Regions from separate parts of the Homo sapiens genome. Here region 2 is linked to region 1. The links are contacts of gene promoters, found by promoter capture Hi-C in human tissues and cell types (Jung and others, 2019). All regions are on one chromosome and are shown on one strand. Each heading gives the region's core, a stretch centred on a gene start or on the middle of the fragment in contact. The rest is flanking DNA. Distances are from core to core; before and after follow the strand shown. Region 1 holds the start of LRP1B (LDL receptor related protein 1B). Region 2 overlaps LRP1B (LDL receptor related protein 1B).

Region 1 (4,320 bases), core at 1,524-4,023:
CTTCTGATATAGTTCATACAGTTTGAGAAGCTACCTATTACACAATAAGTACACGTAGAACCTAAATGTGAATTCTCATTTTTTGTCAAGCAGTTAGCTCTTGCACTACAAAACGCATCTGTATAATTCACATGCCTGTTCTGTTATTCAAGGACGATTGACATAAGCCTGTGCAGAAAGTTACATCTCATTAACCTCTTTCTTGAGTTTATATTCCCATATCTTCTGTTTCAGCATATTAGTGAGGGAAGCTTGTCATAATGCAGTAACACTTTCTTTCTTAACTTTCAACAAGATTTCTCTCTTTAAAATTCCTTTTTCCAAATGGGGCCCATCCTTTTCACTTTTGGTAACTGTGAGAATTTTAGCTCTTTGCTAACAGTTTTGAAAGTGTGTTAAATATATAATAGTGGCAAAGTGCTGGTCTACAATTATTTTTACTTGTGCTATCTGATATAGTACTTCATGTGGACGTGGTGATACAACACGACACTATTTCATTTTTTAGAAAAAAACTAGCAATCGTTTACCATGTGCTCTGCTTCTATCTTAGATGTTCCTCTCCCTCATGAAACTAAATTGGCACCAAATATAATCCTCTTAGTTATTTAATATTCTATCTCAGAAGAAAGTTGTGGGGTCTGTATTTTTTATGTTCTATACAAAATTCTCTTCAGATATTTACTCCAATCATGGTAGCAGTAGTTCTATCCTCATAAATGTATACAAAAGCATTGAGAACTCAGCTTTAGATGAAGTCAAATTTCTGGAGATTGGAGACTCAATCAGGAAGAGCCCAATAGCAGTAGTCTGCCAGTACCATTATATTTTGCTAGCATACTGGGCTGAAAATCTCCATTCTGTTCATCTGCTCTGGTCCAACTTCAAACATTTTTCCTAAGAAAGGTTGAGAGCTGATTGTTCCAGATCAAAGACATCATCATTTCAAGGCGAGCTATGTGCTTCCATTTCATCAGTATAGTTTCCAACCATTCCACACCAACTTCAAGGCAAGTTGAGCAAGTTCAGAAGCTATGGTTAGGTGGCAATGATATGCTTAAAAGATTATCACCAATAAGTGTCAGATTTCCTAAAGGAACTCAGATTAGTCCCACCACTGGTAGAGGAAATAACACGTGTAGGTATGTTACAAAGGCTAGAATCTGGCTGCCAACAGCAGGTTGAATAGAAACACTGCAGTTCATTCCCCTGTTCTTTCCTATAATGAAGCAATATTTTTTGTCAATTCATAATCTGCTTCATGTAAATACAATAACTAAATCTCCCAATGCAACATTCTGCCTATTTGCTTGGCATTGGGATCTGGGTTTCTTTCTCTCTTTCTCTCTCTCTCTCTCTCTCTCTCTCTCTCTCTCTCTCTCTCTCTCTTATTTAAACTAAAAAGCTGAACTATACCAGTCAATATAAGCTCATTTTCTGATTTTAAAAAAATCTATGATACTTCTGATTTTACTTTAACCAGTTAACCATTCCAAGGCCAGGGCCAGTGCCCCAAATATTCATCTAGTATTTTCCTCCCTTTTTCACCAGTGCATCTGTTGTCAAAGATTATTAAACTCGCACAGGGATTCTTGATTTTCCAGATGAAAAGTTTATAGAATCCCGGCTTTTTCTAATTCCTACCTCCTTTCTCCTCTGCTCCCCATATCCATTCCCTTCTAAACTTCTACCATTCACCAGCTGCTTGGAGAAAAAGGAAAAGCAAAGCGCCAGACTGGAGAGAGGCACTCCAGGGGTGGGTTAGCCCCTCAGAGCACCTGGGCTGTGTCACAGACCCTCATAATCGAAAAGTCAATTTCAAGCAGGTGCGTGCGCCCGGAATCGTCCTAAAAGCCTCTCTGCTGATGACAGGACTCTGACCCCAGTCTGCCCCCAGGAAGGGGCTATAGAAACGAAAGGGGCCTGAATCGGCGCTTTCGCCGCTCCACGGACCTCGAATGCAGCAGGTAAGGAAGTTAACCTGGGAGCTAAGTTGAGGGCGGACACGCTTAACGCGGAGAACCTGGAGCTCGCAAAAGCTCGCAGTTGAGGGCCATCGCGGAGGGAAGTCTTTCGGAAATGCGAATTCTCATTCCAACATCTGCAGCGCTTAGAATTCGCGGACAGAAGCGCACAGCCAAGTGCACACACTCCCGGAGGGGACAAAATGGGGACCGGGAAACGGCCAAAGGGAAAAGCTGTGGGGGTGCCGAGGACTCAGGCACTTGGTTCAGAAATCCCGCACCGCACCTCTCACCCCCGCACAGGGCCAGCGCACGGTGGTCACCCGGTCCCGGGGAGCGGAGCTGCAAGGACTTAAGTTTCACACTCACTTATCTGCAAGCATCGCCCAGCAGGAAAGCCAAGGAAGTCAGGGGAGGGGAGCGGGGAGGTGTTCTCCTTACCTCGGTCGGCTCCCACGGTCAGCACCCTGGCAATCGGCAATAATCCCGAGAGAGTGAGTAAGGCGAGGAGAAACTCGGACATTGTGGTCGCCCGGTAAGGAAGCCTGCGCTGGAGACTGCTCGGCGGCACCTTCGGCCCGGCGGCGGCGGCGGCGGCAGGGGCCGCTTGGAGCCTGGAATCGAGCGGCGTCATTTACAAATGTCACTGGAAATTCTTCAGCTCAATGAGTCCAGCCAGTCAGCCTTCTCCTGCCTGGAGCAGGATGTGGAAGGTGGAGGGATGCGCGCGTGCGGGAGAGAGGAGGCAGAGCGTGTGTGAGCGCGAGCGAGACGCCCGTGTGTCTTGACTTTTCAATGCAGGGTACGTCTGATCTTACATCACGCAAGAGGGGCAGTGAGAGATGCCAGCGGATGGGAATTCACTGATTAATCACCGAATCCACCACACACCCCTTCGTCGTTCACATAAATCACATCTATTACTTAATAAGAGGCATTTAACACAACAGGAAAATACCACCGCGAACGGAGAGCGCCACAAATCACAATTATTTTAATCCCCTTGAAGGGAAAGTAACTCGAAGCTGGTTCTGTGGGGATTTGGGTCTTTGGAGAAGGGAGAGACTTCTGCATTGGCCTGAGCCAGCCAGGCGCCTACAATGCTCCGCAGTTCACAGCCAGCTGAGAACCCTCAGCCGAGCACAGGGCTGCTTCTGCAGGCAAAACAAAGCTTCTCCCTTCGTTCCTCGGAAGCTTCCTTCCCGGGAAGGAAGGACAAGCCAAGGAACAGAGCTTCTCTTAGGGAAATGGTTTCCTCGGCTCTACACAGAATCCCAGTACTTCCTGAATTGCACTTTTAACTTTTATGCTGAGCAGCACCTGGGGACAAAGAGGCAAAATTTAGTGACTCAGCAGAAACAGAAAGCAAAACAACCCCCAAAGTCATTAACCGTTGCGTAAGAAGGGAAGGTTAATGGAAAAGGCTATTGAGGTCCCCAGGCAGGGAACAATAAAGCAACGAATTGGCAGCGTTTTTCTCTGGGGTTCTGTCTTTAAAAGGGTACTTCGAGCCATTTTAAACAGGCTTTGAGGGTTTTGTTGTTTTTGTTTTGTGTTTTGTTTTGTTTTCCTTTTCCATATACTACAGGGGCGGTGTAAGAACTTTCCCGAGCCATCGGAGGCATCAACGGGAATCACTGGAATAATAATATTAGTAAAGTTGTTTTTATGACCACTTAAGTTTACAACATGATCATCCCAGTCCCTAAAATTTTAGTTTGCCATTACAAAGTGGCTACGGAATTAAAACTCAGAAATCTTAATAGTTGTAGACTTACTTTCTTCCTTGTAACATCAGGAATTCTCTTCTAAGAACAAGAGTTGAAAAGGTTTTATATTTAATATTTTGAAACTGGACATGAGTGGAGAGGAAAACTATGAGAAGGGAACAGAACTAAGGAAGAGAACGATTGAAAAGTGAAGGAAGATGCTTTAAAAGCTTTATTTACTTTGCTGTTTGAGACTTATAAGTGAATGCCAGCATTACTATCTACCTATTTATGAGAGTAAAATTATCCAGAAATATCTTTAGATGCTCCTTTGAAGCCATTAAAAACTGGACTAGATGAAAGAACACAGAGATGACTTTGCAGAACATTGTCAATAATCTGTGGATTTCACCTTTTTATTCTTACTCTGTGATTATAAATGTATTTTATGTCACTTTTTCCATGTTTTAAATTATAAAGTTTACTTTCCCTTGAAAATACAACCATTTTGTGTTTGAAATATGACTCCTACATTCAAAAGTGTATGCTTAATTTTTTTTTTTTTTTTTGAGACGGAGTCTCTCTCTGTTGCCCAGGCTGGATTGCAGTGGCGCGATCTCGGCCCACTGCAAGCTCCACCTCCCGGG
Region 2 (3,815 bases), core at 1,312-3,811, 370 kb before region 1:
CAGCTAATTTTTAATTTTTTTTTATAGAGATGGGGGTCTCACTACATTGCCCAGGCTGATCTCATACTCCTGGGCTCAAGTGATCCTCCCACACTGGCCTCTCAAAATGCTGGGATCACTGGTGTGAGCCACTACACCTAGCCTCTTTAACTAATTCTAACTCAGTTTTTCTTCCTAAACAGAGCCCCATAGCTTATTAATTCAGCGTTTTTCCAGCCTTTGCAAGATACAGCAGAAATAACAATGGTGAATGCAAAAAACTTAATAGGAAAAATTCAAGAAGATAAATTTTGAGGTGGACTTAACCTTGTCTAGAACCAGAAAACAGACAAAACAGGTTATGCGTAGCTGCATTTACAAATTATGCAAATTCGACAGCTGTAGTTTATGCAAATCATATGTAGGCCCCTTAAGTGTATCATTAACCTACATGAGTTGCTTGGGAATTCCATACACAGAGAGGAGCAAAATTTATCTTTTCTCTTCCCCCCACTCCAAATATCATAGGAGTATTAAATTTGTAACAACTTAATATGCTTTATTGTATTTTTTCAGATAAAAACATCACATACTGCTTTGTATAATCCAATTTATTAATTCATGCTATTTTGGCCTCAGTAATTCTTATCATTTCAGTATTGCATATAAAAATCTCACAGTTGGGTAGAACATTCAATGTTGAATGTCAAAATGTATTTTTTATTTAACTAAATCTTAAGTTCTGCATGAGTCCATTCTAAACGTCATTTATGTGTCAATAAATAAAATATATACATATATATGTACTGAATAGCTAACATGCTCAAAGTATTATGAATAATACATAAAGAATGGGATAAAACATAGGAAATTAATAGGTAATCACTAAACAAAATCTTGAACAAAACTCAATAATGATTTAACAAGGTATGTATTTACTTAGAGTATTGATTGCTTGTTACAATCTAGATAACTCTACTAGGCACAGGATATATAAAAATGGGACAAAAAGGAAAACTCTTGCCATTAGGAAATTTATACTCTAGTGCAAAGTAAATTTTTGTTTTATTTGATGTTTAACTTTTGTTTTTATTCAGTTATACTTTCCTTTTATTTCTATGTGATCATTAAAAAGTGTCTCATTTAAAATATTTTGAAGAAAAGTACTAAATACTCCTTAGTTAATTAATTGTAAAGGAGTGCTGATAAAATTATTCTGTCCTTCAAATTTCAATCTAGAAAACCAAAGTATATTTTCATGAATCAAATGTTCAAATAGTAAGATTTAAGACAATCCTCTGTTGTGGAAAGCCAAATCATGATTTTTAAACACGTTGATAAAAATAAAAGGAGAAGGCTTTGGGAAAAAAATGCAAAAGTCATTCAAAGAAATGTATCATCACTCTAAAAAATGACAAAAAATAAAGTCCTCTGAAAAATGTTTTCAATCCCCAGTAGAATGAAAGAATCTATAGACTATAGACTTTTGGACCACAGAAAGCCATGACATAAAAAGAGACTGAGATAAAAAGTTCATATGAACAGATGGAAAGTAGTAAGAATAAAATTACAAAGAATACAAGGAAGCTCTAAACTCATTTGCAGAATGATAGAACTCATTTGCCCTGATAGAAGGGCAACATTTATTATATTGCATAATGACAAAATAACGATACAAAGGAAAACCTTGAGATGTGCTATTAGAATGCAGAGTCAAGAGTGGTAAGATGAAAAATAAATTGAGGAAGTAGATGATAGATGACAGCTATGAAATATAGGGATAGGGAATGCAACTTGTGGATCATTAGCATTTTTAAAGAAATGATTAAGCATATTAGAAAGTGGAAATATTCAAAGATATAATAGAAGAATATTTATCAAAACTTTACCAAAATAAATCTGTGATTAAAAGAGCCTAACATGTTATACGCTAAATCATTGAACAGATAACCAGTCTTAGACGTACCATGGGAAGTATCAGGAGAAAGAAAACTGTTTATCTCTAGATAGAAAAAATAAACAAGCAAATCAACAAGGTGGAAGAAAATATAATGGATGGTCTTTTAAAATATTATTGAGACTACAATTGAGAAAGATGTTTAGATCTTTGAGGGGGAGACATTGTCTGAGAACTTTAGAGGCAGCCACATTACATGTCAAAAGCAATGGAAAAATATACTTGAATATTGGCGAGGCACCTGTAATCCCAGCACTTTGGTAGGCCGAGGCGGGTAGATCACCTGAGGTCAGGAGTTTGAGAGCAGCCTGGCCAACATGGCGTAACCTGTCTCTACTAAAATACAAAAATTAGCCGGGCGTGGTTGCGTGCGTCTATAATCCCAGCTACTCGGGAGGCTGAGGCAGGAGAACCACTGCCTCAATGTCAAGTTGGCAACATCTATCACTACTTGTGGAAATTTACTTCCGTTTGATGTAGTAGTTCTACTTTTCAGAATTGTTTCAAAAACTATCATGTGTTAATGCAAAAATACATCTCTTGTAATGTTCATTATGAAATTGATAACCAAAACTGGAAAGAAACCCAGTCTTCATCCATAAGTTGTGAGTAAAATAAGTGATGGTACAACCATTTGATGGAATACTAAGACGATATGAAAAATGATGTGAAATGCTCATAAGTCATTGTTAAGTAAAAAAACACATCTTCATTAGGATTCATCTTATGTTTGTGTGAAAATGTCATAATAGATGTATTCATAAGTTATTAATGTTAATTTACAGATGGGTGATTACGAGTGACCTTTATTTTCTCAAACAAAAACATATTTGTTCAAAATATTTAAAGAAATTTATTATTTTATGGTATGTAAAACAAGCTGCTCAACAAAATGTTATTTTAAAAGAGCATTGAGACAGCATATATTTAGTGCAACTTATATACAACAATAAAGATGTATATTTTACTGGACTATACACTTAACAAAAGAAAGCAAAATCTTTTTAAGGTTGGGTCATGGATTGTTACAGAGTTTTCAATTTCAGAAATATTTTGTATTCATTGTTTCATACAAGAACACTACGTGATGGATTTATATTGGAAGCAAAAATAAGGACACTCAAAGAAAATCAACACAGTGCACAAAACTGTGAAGATTCTTACAGACGATGGCTAACATATTAGAGTCACTTGTAACATGGTGCTTTCATGGCCTTTACACACCATTTATCACATAAGAAAGATTATCCCAACTTTTAGAAAATTATTACTCTCCCCACTTTACTTTAGCAAAACATCTTTCAATTACCCTAAAAATGTTTAAGTTAGCTATATTTGTGGGCACATTTTCTGTTTAGCACCTCTGTTCTTTTATTATTTTATTTACGGAGTATGGGGTTGACAGACTGAGTGATCCTGAAATCTGTAACATGAGCATGTACGTTTTATAATGCTGAAATATTGCATAGGAATACAAGATGGTTAACCTCATTGTTAGGAAACACTCTTCATTAAGTTCAGTGATATTTGTGTTTCTGTAAAAAGAGATTGCTTATCTATTATCAGTTGATCCAATTTCTGGCACCTGAGTGAAAACTATTTTTTTTCCATTAAATCTGGTCAGTGTGTTTGGGAAGAAATTGCAGTACATTGCCCAGAGGTTCCAAAACTCTTTGTTCATATATCCTTTATTTAATGCCTCAGGAATTTTCCCTCAGCAATCCTAAGTCAAAAAAAAAAAATACATTGAAGTCTAGTTTATTATGTAGAAGTACAAATAACTTAATAAATATTTATATCAAGCAACATAGAAATCATTTGAAAAATAACACAAATACACTATAAGAAAAAAATTTTAATTTCTTCCACAATTAAAAAT

The links. Contacts are between HindIII fragments. The study calls those that stand out against the background at their distance.
Region 2: a fragment that was not itself captured here is called in contact with the fragment with the promoter of LRP1B in region 1 in 1 of the 25 tissues and cell types used here (hippocampus).

The regions. Positions count from the first base shown.
Region 1 is chr2:142,128,243-142,132,562 of GRCh38, forward strand. It overlaps LRP1B (LDL receptor related protein 1B), which reads right to left and starts at 2,774. Exons shown (of 91, transcript NM_018557.3): 1 at 2,406-2,774. The coding sequence starts at 2,487. RefSeq lists an enhancer at 2,642-3,841. The HindIII fragment of the contact is 3,160 bases long and covers 1,694-4,320 here.
Region 2 is chr2:141,757,694-141,761,508 of GRCh38, forward strand. The region is part of intron 2 of LRP1B (LDL receptor related protein 1B); the gene reads right to left. The region is part of intron 3 of LOC107985779 (a long non-coding RNA gene); the gene reads left to right. Among named protein-coding and RNA genes, the nearest start is that of LRP1B, 370 kb to the right of the region's middle. The HindIII fragment of the contact is 6,492 bases long and covers 1-3,815 here.